Regions from separate parts of the Homo sapiens genome. Here region 2 is linked to region 1. Evidence: promoter capture Hi-C in human tissues and cell types (Jung and others, 2019). All regions are on one chromosome and are shown on one strand. Each heading gives the region's core, a stretch centred on a gene start or on the middle of the fragment in contact. The rest is flanking DNA. Distances are from core to core; before and after follow the strand shown. Region 1 holds the start of ITGAE (integrin subunit alpha E). Region 2 overlaps ZZEF1 (zinc finger ZZ-type and EF-hand domain containing 1).

Region 1 (6,979 bases), core at 938-3,437:
GAGAGAGTGGAAGGTCAGGGCCAGGCCAGGCCAGTCCTGGATTCTCTCCAGCCTAAGGAGGCCCAACCCGGCACAGGGTACAGGGTGCTGGGCCTGGAGCCACAGTCTGAGGGAGTTCTTCCTCCCAGCATCTCCTGGACATTTTCTTTCTCAGACTCTCCTCAGCCCCCAAGACTCAACGCCACCTCACCTCCTCCAGGAAACTCTCCTGGACTGGCCCATCCTAGTCTCAGGACCTCACAGCATGGAGCAGAACTGCAGCAGCCTCGTTTCCGCCACCCACACCGGAGCTGCGGGGGCCCTGCTCTGGTCCCCTTCCCGTGGCTGAGCTGAGCTGTGGGCTAAGTGGTCTCATGGCAAGTCTGCTCCATCATCGCTCTCTGCTGCCCATCAGCTTGGGAAGGGCCTAGGCCTCAAAAGAGGTTTGATCGATGCCACCTGCTGGAAAAGGCACTGAGGTGATGGGTGGTGGTCTCAGAGGCTAAAGGAGACAGATGAGCCACAGGAGTATTCTGGAGCTGGGAGGCAGGACAGAGGCCTGGGCTTGAGCCTCGTGTCTATTATCAGTTGCTTGCAAGCCTGGGTAGTCACTGCCCGCTCTGTGCCCCAGTCACCTCCTCTGTACTGGGAGAGGGTAGACAAGAGTCTAGTCTAAGCATCTGCTCCAGATATTCTTGGTAATGGGAGATCAAAGCCACAAGCCATAAAAAGAGTGAGACTCTCTCCACACCCCACATGTAACTAAAAACAGAGAAGTCTAAATTGTAAAATAAAAGGAAGTTCAACAAACTGTTGACCTTTCCATGGTGACTATTCTGATGTTTTTGAAATATAAAATATTAGGCCGGGCAAGGTGGCTCATGCCTGTAGTCCCAACACTTTGGGAGGCCGAGGCAGGTCGATCACCTGAGGGCAGGAGACCAGCCTGACCAATATGGTGAGACCCTGTCTCTACTAAAAATACAAAAATTAGCCAGGCGTGGTGGCAGGCGCCTGTAATCCCAGCTACTCGGGAGGCTGAGGCAGGAGAACTGCTTGAACCTGGGAGGCAGAAGTTATGGTGAGCCAAGATCCAGCCTGGGCTCCAGCCTGGGCAGCAGAGCAAGACTCTGTCTCAAAAAATAAAATAAAATAAAATGAAATATAAAATATTAAAATCTGTCCAAAAACGTGTTCCTTGCTGGTACCCTACACATTGTGGCCTGCTTCCTGGGTGATCTGGCCCCAGGTGGGATGCTAATCCCAAGTCCCCTCCCAGCACAGCCTCAGCCCATCTTTCAGGGAGAACTCAGCTACCAGGAGCCTTTCATCCACATAAGCTTGATGCCCATCCAATTCTCCGGCCAACCTCCTGAGCAGGGGCAGGAGACCCATGGGAAGTCTGCTCAGATCACTAGGCAGGACCACCCTGGCCTCCGGCTTAATCTTAGCAGCCTCCAGGGGCTCACCTGACCGTGCTGTCTCATCACAGGGGGCCCCCGAAAGGACTCATGGCTTGGCTTGCCCAGAGGCTTCCATGGGACAGTTAAAGGCTAAAATGGGACCCCCCAGGCAGCAGAAGTGCCTCCCCCCACCCCACATTCCAGTTTTTACCCTGGGCCTGACAACACAGGAAGCAGGCTCCCTGCCAACACTCACACCCTCTACCATACAGACACTTGCCCCCAGTCTCTGGTCAACACTCTCTCACAGGGTCCTCACCCTCATCAGCCCAACCCCTGCTCTGTAACAGAAGGGAGCTCTGCCAGGCGGAGCCTCCACACTCAGAGAACAAACTACAGAGTCAAGGACCTGCCCCAAGTGGGTGCCATGGGGAGAGGGCCTCGGTGGCGGGGGGAGGCTGGCTGGAGGAGGAACAGAATGGCAGAGCCCTGGAGTCCAAAGGCCCTGGCTGACAGAACTGGCAACACGAAGCCTCAGCCGCCCTTCCCAACAAGCCTGGGGCCCTGACCCACCGAGCAAGACTCCTTTCCTGGAGGAGCTGCCACTCTCTAACCTCTGGCTCTAACTGAGCCCCATCAGAGACAGACAGTCAAGGCTGTAGTCTGCAGACACCTGGCTGGAGCTGAGGGCACAGCAGCCCCTCGAAGCAGCGGGTGAGAGGACTTACTGGCTATGCAGAGCAGAGTGTGGAAGAGCCACATCCTTGCTGGAGCAGAGGCGGCTGTGTGGGAGCCGAGGCGAGTGCGACACATGGGCCGTGGCCCACTCAGCTTCCCCTCAGCCAGGAGGCCAGGAGGCGGGGACAGAAGCACACACACCAGCAAGGACCCACAGACCGGCACTTTCAACCAAACAGAGACACTCCGGCTCGTACACAACCAGCCGTGTGGCTTCCTCAGTTGTGGGCTGGACCCTAGGAGCTTAGGGGCCACTGTCAGCCCCACTCTACCACCCACACTTTGACCCACACTTTCATGGAATAGGGAGCTGAGGTTTGGCCAGGGCCACAGTTCTAGGTGTCCTCAGCAGATGCTGGAGGTGCAGGAGCAACGTGAATCCAGCCTGCCGTTCGTATCATCCATTTGAGTCGGTCCCCTGTCCTGCCTCAGAACCTACCACCAGACATCTCAGCCCAGCTTCCAGCCCAGGGTCCTCGGTGGTGGTTGCCTCAGCACTGAGACAGGCGTCCCCCTCCCATAGGAAGTGCCTCCCCAGCCAAAAACTGGGCTCTTGTACCAGCCCATGCACTCAAGGCCCTGGGGTTCTGGAGGGCCAGGTGAGTGGAAAGACCCAACGCACTGAGTGAAATCACTGCCTCGATTCAACTTCGGCTGCGTTCATTCTCTTTAAAACCAGGACAGCAACCTGACGTGGAAACTGACTGAACAGGACTCTGAGTTACCAGAATAACAGAAGTAAAATTCTATACATCTTCCAGCATACCTGTGATGCATCCCAGCATTCCACAGAACACGCCGTTGACAGCTGGCAGTCGTGTTTAAGTGCTGATCTGAGATCTGTACTGTGTGACCAAGTCTGTGACACAGAAGGAACTCTCCTGCACCCCTGCTCCCCAGGCTGCTGGAAGTGCAGAGTGGCGCCGTCAAACAGAACTCTGCGCGGGGATGGAACTGCTCTAGGTCGACGCTGTCCAGGATGGTACTCATGAGCCACATATGGTACTAAACCCTTAAAATGCCACTAGAACAACTGATGAACTGAATTTTGTATATTTTATTTAATTTTAATTAAACGTAAAAAGGCAGGACATTCCAAGGCTCTCTAACACGAGTGTCTGCAGCCCCATTCGCTTTGAGATGTGAATGTGTTAACCCAGGGTGGACAATGGTGTTGACTTCATTACTAGATAAAAATCCATGTTATTTTGTTTCTCGCATTGAAAGGCTGCTTGGCTAAGGTTCTGTGAAGATCCGATGACATTTCCAACACTTTGCCTTGTCTGCTTTGCTCTGACAAAGTGCTTATGACTACTAGATCTTGCTCGGTTATGTGAGATTACAATTCACCGGTTTCCATCCTGTATGAAACAGAAGTTAAACAGTTGTAAAAGCAAAATTCCAGGTCTGGTGGTTTTCCTGCCAGGTCATGATGAAACCATCCTACTTCTGTTGAACCTCGTCCCAGGCAGGATCGGGGCCTGCGGCCTACAGCCTGTCTTCCCAGCGCTCCAGGGCTCGTGACCCTCCTCCTCCCCTCACTTCATTCTGCGCTCCAAGGGCACTGGGGAGAGTCACAGTGGTCTCCTCTCCCCCGCATTGGCCTAAAGCAGGAAGAGAGCAGCCCAGTCACTGAGCAGATCCCTGCTAGGGCAGGGCTAGAACCCAGACTGCAGCTCACTCGAGATTCCTGAGAGAAGACTTTGTGTTTGGAGTGTGAACGTCAGGGTGCCTCGGGAAGCCAGGGAAAGCTGATGACTGGGTGCTGGACAGGGAGCAGGGCCACTTCTGTACCTCTGCACACTTCTAGAATGCGGACTCATCCTGCATCCATCCAGTATGTATTTATCCAAGCGTCAGTGCCTCTAGTCATGAGACACACAGGGGTCCGTAAAGCCCACCTGGCGGTAGCTGCTTTCCCCACAAACCCAAACTACATCCCCAAGGTCAGGGCCAGGCTCTGTTGAGTAATGCTCCCCATCACAGCACGCAGCACAAGGCTGGCTGTTTGACAAATACACACATAACCAAAAGACATGTGAATGTGGTTTCCCAACTCACTTTAAACAAATATTCCGGGACCAACTTCAAGGACGTTCTACAACAGAAACTGGACTGTACTCTTCACAAACATCAATGTCATGAAAGACAGAAAGGCTGAGGACCTGCTCCAAACGAAAGGAGGCTGCAGAGAGGACAACTAAAGGCAGCGCTTGATCCTGGATTGGATCCTGGACCAGAAAAACAACGGCTTTCAAAATCATTATTGGGACAGTTGGCAAATTTGAAACAGGAACTACAAATTAGCAACTCCTGGGCTGATCAGAGAATATTACACATTTCCTGAATTTGAGAACTGTACCATGGGCATGTGAGAGGCTGTCCCTGTTCTTGGGAAATGTTCACTAAAACATCTTACGGATAAACGAGCATGATGTATACAAATAATCCTCAAATGGTTCATGGTTCAGAGAGGATAGGAAGAAACAGGGGTGAGGGAGAAGAGGAGGGAACGAATGAAAGAGAAAATGTGGCAAAATGTTCTTTGTTGTACCCTTCAAACTGCTGTGATTTTGAAATTATTTCAAAATAAAGTTTTAAATATTTTAAAAAATTTTTTTCTTTCTCCCCTTGATACCAGGAAGAATAAAGTTTTTAAAAAATGGGCAGGTGGGCCAGGCGCGGTGGCTCACGCCTGTAATCCCAGCACTTTGGGAGGCCGAGGCGGGCGGATCACAAAGTCAGGAGATCGAGACCATCCTGGCTAACACGGTGAAACCCGGTCTCTACTAAAAATACAAAAAAAATTAGCCAGGCGTGGTGGCGGGTGCCTGTAGTCCCAGCTACTCAGGAGGGTGAGGCAGGAGAATGGCGTGAACCCAGGAGGCGGAGCTCGCAGTGGGCGGAGATCATGCCACTGCACTCCACTTGGGTGACAGAGCGAGACTCCGTCTCAGAAAAAGTGGCCAGGTGCACTTGTAGTCACAGTTACTTAAGAGGTTCAAGCTACTTGGGAAAGCTTGAGCCCAGGAGTTTGAGTCCAATCTAGACAACATAGTATGAACCTGTCTCTTTAAAAAAAAGTTGCAAAATGTTCATGGATGGAGGAGACGTGCTCGGCGTGAGGTGAAAGGGCTGCCTGTGGGTCGGGCGTGGTAGCTGACACCTGTAATCCCAGCACTTTGGGAAGCCGAGGTAGGCGGATCGCCTGAGTTCAGGAGTTTGAGACCAGCCTGGGCAACATGGTGAAACCCTGTCTTTACTAAAAACACAAAAAATTAGCCAGGCGTGGCAGCGTGTGCCTGTAGCCCCAGCTTCGGGAGGCTATGGTGGGAGAATTGCTTGAACCTGGGAGGCGGAGGGTGCAGTGAGCCGAGACTGCGCCATTGCACTCCAGCCTGGGCGACAAGAGCAAGACTTCATCTCCAAAAAAAACAGAAAGGGCTGCCTGCTGTCTTCAGAGTGAGTCAAAAGCACTGAGGCACAGCCTTCAGACACAGGAAATGGTTCTATTCTCCCACTTGCCTTCTGACTCTTAGGAAGCCAGAAAGAGTGACGGCATTGCTGAGACCAGAGCCCAGGGCTGCAGAGCAGTGGTACTCACGACCTTTGAACACTCGGTAGGAGTGCCCTGCTCAGTGCCAAGGCCTCACATGCGAGCCCTCATCTGAGCCTCTCAGCCACCTACAAGGTCAACCCGATTTCTCAGATAAGGATGCTGCCTCTGAGAGGCCACATAGCTAGTAAGGAGCAGAGCTGGGACTCCAAACAGGCCTGTTTCCTCCAGAATCAGGACTCTGAACCACCACAAACTCTCCTGCCTTCAGCTCTTTTGGTGTGTAGACTTTTTTTATTTTTGTTTTTGAGATGGAGTCTTGCTCTTTCATCCAGACTGGAGTGCAGTGGCACAATCTCAGCTTACTGCAACCTCTGCCTCCTGGGTTCAAGCGATTCTCCTGCCTCAGCCTCCCGAGTAGCTGGGACTACAGGTGCCCGCCACCACACCCGGCTAATTTTTGTATTTTTAGTAGAGACGGGGTTTCACCATGTTGGCCAGGCTGGTCTCGAACTCCTGACATCAGGTGATCCCCGCCTCGGCCTCCCAAAGTGCTGAGACTACAGGTGTGAGCCACGTGCCCAGCTAGGTGGTGTGTAAACTTTAAAAAAGCAGAGATTTCATCCCACAAATGCAGACTGGGATCTCCACATGACCAGGTGCTGTGGACTGAACTGTAAATGTCCTCCAAATTCATATGTTGAAGCCCTAACCCCCAATGTGGCTCTTCTTGGACATATGGCTTTTAGGAAGTAATTAAGGTTAGATGAGGTCATAATCCAGCAAGATTGGTGGCCTTACAAGAGCCATGTGCAGGCACCAAGAAAAGCCTACGTGAATAAGACAGCAAGAGGGTGCTCACCATGTTGGCATCCTCCGGCCTCAGATCTGTGGGGGACTGCGGGGGTGATGGGACAGGGAGAGAACAAGGAGTGGATTTTCTTGTCCTTTCTAAGGAAGGGGCTGGGAGGGCGAGGGCTGCACTGGGTGCTGGGACCAAGGGTCCAGGGGCTTGGATCTCTTGTTTACAAACCCCTACTTCTTTCCTGCTATCTAGCCCACACCCCTGATGCTCCCCGGAAAGGAGAGCAAGGATCCTTGAACACGCGTTAGCACTAGAAGGAAACTGGAGCTCACCCCAGTTGAGCCCTCCATTTGACAGACAGGGAAGCTGAGGCCCAGGGAGGTGAGGGGACTTGCTCAGTCTTTCCAATTGAGTATGTGGGGCAGAAGGAGTCCCCAGAGCCCCGGCCCCAGCCACCATCCTATTTGACTTTCCCCAACAGGCATTCTACCTCAGCTA
Region 2 (6,968 bases), core at 1,777-4,276, 270 kb after region 1:
TGAGACAGAGTCTTGCTCTGTCGCCCAGGTTGGAGTACAGTGGCGTGATCTCGGCTCACTGCAACCTCTGCCTTCCAACTTTGAGCAATTCTCCTGCCTCAGCCTCCCGAGTAGCTGGGATTATAGGCATCCACCACTACGCCCAGCTAATTTTTGTATTTTTAGTACAGATGAGGTTTCACCATGTTGGCCAGGCAGGTCTCGAACACCTGACCTCGGGTGATCCACCTGCCTCAGCCTCCCAAATTGCTGGGATTACAGGCGTGAGCCACCGCACCCAGCCTCAGCTAATTTTTAAAAAAAATTTTTTGTAGATGGAGGGGGGGGGGTCTCACTATGTTGCCCAGGTTGGTCTTGAATTCCTGATCCCAAGTGATCCTCCCACTTTGGCCTCCCAAACTGCTGAGATTATAGGCATGAATCACCGTGCCCACCCAAAAATTACTTCTTTAAAGAAAAAAAAAAAAATCAAAACTTTTCTTGAATATTCTAAAACAAGTCTTGATCTATCCTAAATATTATTTGTTCGTTTTTAACATGAACTTCAAGCCTCTGACTAGACTGGGTACCTACGGCTTAAAAAGAGAAAGCGACAGGAAGGTAACAACGGGCTTACCTCCTGTGCGAGAGCGACTGATCCTTAATGAAGTCCATGACGTCCTTCAGCACAGGGTATTTCTCTTTCACTGTGGGCACCAGTCTGGCCTCCTCCATGGATCGAAAGGAGAGCAGCCGGAGTCGCCCTCGGGTGAAGGGAGGCCGGCGGGTGGGTGTGGAAGGTGACAAGGGCTCTTCAGCTGTGGCAGGGGACACGTCTGCAGCAGGAAGGCCACTGCTGGATGGCAGCTTTGGCTGGGTGCCCAGGCCAGGACTCTGGTCTCCTGTGGCAGGGGGTGCGGCTTCAGTGGGAGATACTGAGGCTTGGAAATGCTCTTCCACCACAGAGCTTGTCCTCTGACGCTTGTTGAGTGGCTGGAGATGACTGGTTTCATCAGCAGTCTCCAACTTTTCGCAGCTTTCTTTTGAACTTATGCCCGTGGGCAGAAATTTTAGTAATAGAAGACTCTTCTCAATGCACTCTTTTGCTAGATGCAAACAAGAATCATAATTGAAAAAAAAAAAAGTTAAAATTATGGGGGAGGGGGAGGGGAGAGGGATAGCATTAGAGGATATACCTAATGTAAATGATGAGTTAATGGGTGCAGCACACCAACATGGCACATGTATACATATGTAACAAACCGGCACGTTGTGCACATGTACCCTAGAATTTAAAGTTAAAAAAAAAAGTTTAAATTTATTGCCTACTTCTGTAGAGAAAATAAGTTAAATGTCACAATTTAGGGCAAGAGACAGCTTCATGAATAAAGTGATATAGGCCTAGTGTGGTGGCTCACGCCTGTAATCCCAGCACTTTGGGAGGCCAAGGCAGGAGGATCACTTGGGGTGATACCTCAGCTTGGGTAACATGGTGAAACCCAATCTCTATAAAAAAACAATAAATTAACCAGACATGGTGGCACACGCCTATAATCTTATCTACTTGGGAGGCTGAGGCTGAAGGATTGCTTGAGTCTGAGAAGTTGAAGCTGCAGTGAGCCGAGATCATGCCACTGCATTCCAGCTTGGGCGAAAGAGTGAGACACTGTCTCCAAAAAAAAAAACAAACAAAAAAACCAAAAAACGAAAAAGTGATACACATATTTACTGACAGAATAGAAGAACAGAATCAAATTTTATCTCATTATAGAAATCAAAATCTCGCCAGTACTATCAGCACACTTTTTAGAAAAAGTTTTATTGTAGATGTTTTCAAACATGTATATAGAGAAAATACCATAAGGACCCTTCCATGTACCTGTCACTCAGCTTCCGTCATTATTAACTCACGGCCAATCTTGTTTCACCCCCATCAACCCCTCACTCCCCGGATTACTTCCACACACATTCCAGCACCACACTATTTTATCTGTAAAAATTTTTAGCATATTTCTCTTAAAAATATATGAGTTTTAAAAAATAACAACCATAATATTTAAAAAATAATAGTAATTCTTTTATTTCACTGAATATTCAGTGTGAGCACACTTTAAAATCATAACAAGGCCAGGTGCAGTGGCTCATGCCTATAATCCCAGCACTTTGGGAGGCTGAGGTGGGAGGATCACTTGAGGCCAGGAATCTGACACCAGCCTGGGCAACACAGTGAGACCCCTTCTCTAAAAAAAAGTTTTTAATTGCTTAACACAGGCGATACAAAGAGGAAAAAAAAATTTGCCAGGTGTTGTGGCACCTGCTTGATGTCCCAGCTACCCGGTAGGCTAAGGCGGGAAGATTGCTTGAGCCCAGGAGTGGGAGGCTGCAGTGAGCTATATGACTGAACCACTGCACTCCAGCCTGGGAGACAGAACGAGACCCCATCTCAAAAAAGAAAAAAGATGTAGCTCAAAAAGCACCTGATGCCGCCTAAGAGAAGTGATTAGAAAGATGTTCCATTTGGAGCAGGCCAATAAAACATTACTCCTCTTTGGGATTTTCTCTATTTATGATACATCCTTGGATACTATATTTAGCATCTGTGTTACTTTCCCTAGGTCAACACAGCCTCAATTAAGATAATCTAGAAGGTGAGTAATTGGTTTTCCAGGCTCTAAAACGAAAACAGAAGGCTCAGGGACAACAGCTGGTGTTAGCACACTCACCCAGGCTCTCAGGGTTCACCTCAGTAGCTTCTGAACTATGTTTTTCTTCTGCTTCATTCCCCAGGCTCATCAGGGACTTCTGCTTCATCTCTAACTAGGGGAGAATTTGAGCCACATCATTATGCTGTCCAGGCAGGGAAGCAAGGACAGCCATGGCAAACTACTTCAAAAGCACACAGCACTGACACCACAGAGTACTTCACAGTTGTATCATTTAGAGGGGTTTGTAATACTCACAACCTTATTACTTAAAAATTTCTAGAACACTGGTGCTGCAGGGGGCTTTCTCTAAAGCCTATCTAGTACTGATAAAGAAGAAGCTGAGATCTAGAGAAATGAAGAGTCTTACTAGGGTCATAAACCCAGTCTGCTGCAGATTGAACCAAAATTTCAGAGGGGACATCTCTACGTGATGCTGAGACCTAAAACTGGCCATGGTTACCTAGTATCTAAAGCGATGCTGTTCCGCCAACTCTACGGAGTTCCACGAAGGGATGTAAAGAGGGGTCAACTAAATTCTGTTTCCTCTATTTTCAACTGTCCAGACTATAATTTCAAGGGTTCTAAATTGTTTTATATCTATTCATGTCACTAAACTTTAGCTTAACAAAAATCCTAAAGCTATATTCTTGAGAAGAGAACAATTCATCTTAATTCCATGATATCACGGTAGAAAACCTAAAATATAGCAAAATCACATGCAAAGAAAATCTTACCATCCATATTCGAATCCCATCTGCCAAGGAATAAACCTGGGCAAACTCTTCACTCAGGGCTATTTTGCCCCCACTGTTGACTGGGGAGAGAAGCAGAGATGGAGATTACATTCAGGTAACACAATTCACTACTGCAACATTAAGCACAAAAAATCTAAATCTGCTGAAGTACAGGAAAAGTCCTCCTGACAATCACACATTGAGGATGGTAAGAGAGACTCAGGGAAAAAAATATTCAATTAAGCCACAAATACCTGTGTGGGTTCCTGTGTTATTTCAAACTAACTTTTTTCAAACTAATAATTTCTAAAATGGAAATAATTTTAAAAGTGTGTAAAATATTAAAAGATATAAAAATACTAAAAGTAAAAATTTTAGAATATTAACAGTGAGTAAAAAAGTATTTATTGATATGGAAGAAAGTTCATGGTATATTAAGTAAAAAAGCAGGTTATGAAACAGTATAAATAAAATGATCTTATTTAAAGAGAGTTTATATATTTAAAACATGGAAGCCAAGTGCAGCAGCTCATGCTTATAATCCCAGCACTTTTTATTTTTATTATTCTTATTGTTTAAATTTTTTTAAGAGATAGGGTCTTACTCTATCACCCAGGCTGGAGTGCAGTGGCACCATCATAGCTCCCTGCAGCCTCAAACTCCAATCCCAGTGCTTTGGGAGACTGAAGGTAGATTGCTTGAGGCCAGGAGCTCGAGACCAACCTAGGCAACATAGCAAGACTCTGTCTCTACAAAAAATAAAAAATTGTCCAGGCACACCGGCATGCACCTGTAGTCCTAGCTACTAGGGAGGCTGAGGTAGGAAGATCACTTGAGACCAGGAATTCAAGGTTACAGTGAGCTACAACTGTGCCCCTGCACTCTAGCCTAGGCAACAGAGCAAGACCCTGTCTCTAAAAACAAACAAAAAAATAAAATGTGTATGGATACACATATATATATACAAATATACATACATATGAATATACCTACATAAAGTCCAGGTAAATAGAAAAACATTCATAAAGGTTCTAAGTGGTGAGACTGTAGCTGATAATTATTTTAAGCTTTTCTATACTTAGGTTGCTACATAAACAGGTTTTGTTTATAATTAGAAAAATAACAATTTTTTTTGAGACAGAGTTTTGCTCATTTCCCAGACTAGAGTGCAATGGCGCGATCTTGGCTCACTGCACCCTCTGCCTCCCGGGTTCAAGCAATTCAAGCAATTCTCCTGTCTCAGCCTCCCGAGTAGCTGGAATTACAGGCACCTGCCACCACACCTGGCAAATTTTTGTATTTTTAGTAGTGACAGGGTTTCATCATATTGGCCAGGCTGGTCTCAAACTCCTGACCTCTGGTGATCCACCTGCCTTGGCCTCCCAAAGTGCTGGGATTACAGGCGTAAAGCCACTGCACCCAGCCTAACAAAAAAAATTTTTAAAGAAAGATCTATGAGGCTTGCCCCTTCTCTTCAGCTAAAACCCAAAGGATAATATACTAGAACAGCATGAAGCTCTCTTTTGCATCTATGTTACAATGCAGTAAGTAATTCCTGAAGCCCTGGAATACGCCAGGGCTGTACCAGACACTGGGAATATTATGCTGAGAAAAACAAAGTTCCTGCCCTCAAGCAGCTTATATTCAAGTTGAAAAACTCCTCCCCACCCTTTCTAACCCCAAAGAGTGACTAATTTTTAGACAAAGATGAGCAAATTTGCTAGACAAAGACCATTCTCAAAGTAGTTCAGTCTTAACTCAGAAATAGTCCTTAGACATATAATATCTATATCAATATCTATATCACAAAGGCAGAGACAGAAAGAACTAAGACAAGCCTGGCCTCCTTCAAACCAATAATGGCAGGCATTCTAGAAACAACCTGCACACAGCAAGACATTCCGAGTTCCCACAGTTGTAGAGTTCCCACAGTTGACTGTGTGTTTTCTCTTCTGCAAACAGGTATGTGGTATCTGAACACAGCCTGAAGTTTCCCACAGCAGGAAGCCTTCCATTTCTCAGCTTTTAACCCACAGGCTTTTATCCCTCTACTGAAAATTCCTTCAAGTAAAAAGATTATCCAGCTTTCTTACTATAATTTGATTACAAAAATACATATTGACATTCCCCCCGCCAAAACCATACAGGTTACATCACCCCCTCGATTCCTCAGCAGAGAAAAACTCTTCCATATGACATTTGTTTCCATAAATCACTCATGTCTCAACACAGTTTTGTTTATTTGAGCAGCTTTTTAAAGGAGATATTAAGATTTGGGGATGTAATCAAGATGTTTTAACAATCAGAAAATAAATTCTGCAATGTGAGATCCAAAGAAATGAGCAATAAAGGTGGTAGGAATAAAAATATCAATAATAACAAAACGAGGCTGGGCGCGGTACTCACGTCTGTAATCCCAGCACTTTGGGAGGCTGAGGCAGGCAGATCACCTGAGGTCAGGAGTTCAAGACCAGCCTGGCCAACAGGGCGAAACCCCGTCTCTACTAAAAATACAAACATTAGCCGGGCGTGTTGATGGGTGCCTGTAATCCCAGCTACTCGGGGGGCTGAGGAAGGAGAATCGCTTGAACCCGGGAGGTGGAGGTTGTGGTGAGTCAAGATCGCGCCACTGCACTCCAGGCTGGGTGACAGAGTGAGACTCCGTCTCAAAAAGTAAAACAAAACAAAACAAAATGAGCAACAGTCAATTACCCACTCTAGTGGAAGGAAGCTCTGTTTTTGCTTCTCCCGCCTGCGCTGCGTGGAGAAGACATACCCTGCCAGGCGGTTAGGAAGCCCATGCCTTATCTCTAGGTAGGGCTTGAAACACTTTTCCCCTGAATTAGTATGAAGGTAGAGAGAGACTCTCCCTCCGTGTGGGTCCTGCTAGGCGGCAGGGAAGCAGGGTAAATACAGAGATGGCATCCCTAAGAGACATGAGGAAAAGAGATGGTGAGGAGAAGGTTATCAGCAAAGGAAGCCTAGTGGGGTGATGCTACGAAGGCGCTGCAAGCTAGCTAAAGGTAATAGTTAATACCTACAGCTTCCTCCTTGGTTATTACTACATTCAAGAACTTAAACATCTGTGGTTTTAATTGGAATTTCTTAGAATGTTAGAGCGAATCACCCTTAAACCAATTTTACAGATAAAGAAACTGAGGTGCAGAAAGGTCGTCTGATTAACCTGAAGCTGCACAACTTTTGAGTTTTTGCACTGGGACCAGGACCCAAGTTAAGGTTTCTTTCCATTAAATTTCTCAGCAGTTTTCCATGAGAATTCTGGATAAAGATAATTTACCTGCTAATTTTGCAACTCAAGGTTAGGTGCCACACATTATAATCTGCTAACCATAAAGTGGCCATGAATCTTTTAATAGGCAAAGTAGAACCAACAAGATGATGTTTACAGTTATAGAAATGTGTTTATATTTTAAAATATTTTAAATGTTCACTTAAGATAGGCTTTCTTAAAACTTAGCAATTAGCCTTCAGATCAAAAATATTCCCTGTAATAAAGTTACCATATTTTTGCAGCTTCTCATATAAATCT

The links. The method cuts DNA at HindIII sites, captures the fragments that hold promoters and counts their contacts. A contact is called where the count stands out against the background at its distance.
Region 2: a fragment that was not itself captured here is called in contact with the fragment with the promoter of ITGAE in region 1 in 1 of the 25 tissues and cell types used here (dorsolateral prefrontal cortex).

Annotation. Positions count from the first base shown.
Region 1 is chr17:3,799,001-3,805,979 of GRCh38, forward strand. It overlaps ITGAE (integrin subunit alpha E), which reads right to left and starts at 2,188. Exons shown (of 31, transcript NM_002208.5): 1 at 2,111-2,188. The coding sequence starts at 2,144. NCBP3 (nuclear cap binding subunit 3) reads right to left here. Exons shown (of 13, transcript NM_001114118.3): 13 at 3,158-6,979. The HindIII fragment of the contact is 9,203 bases long and covers 1-6,740 here.
Region 2 is chr17:4,063,745-4,070,712 of GRCh38, forward strand. ZZEF1 (zinc finger ZZ-type and EF-hand domain containing 1) reads right to left here. Exons shown (of 55, transcript NM_015113.4): 26 at 6,940-6,968; 27 at 3,419-3,498; 28 at 2,703-2,796; 29 at 617-1,085. Among named protein-coding and RNA genes, the nearest start is that of ZZEF1, 76 kb to the right of the region's middle. The HindIII fragment of the contact is 6,989 bases long and covers 1-6,521 here.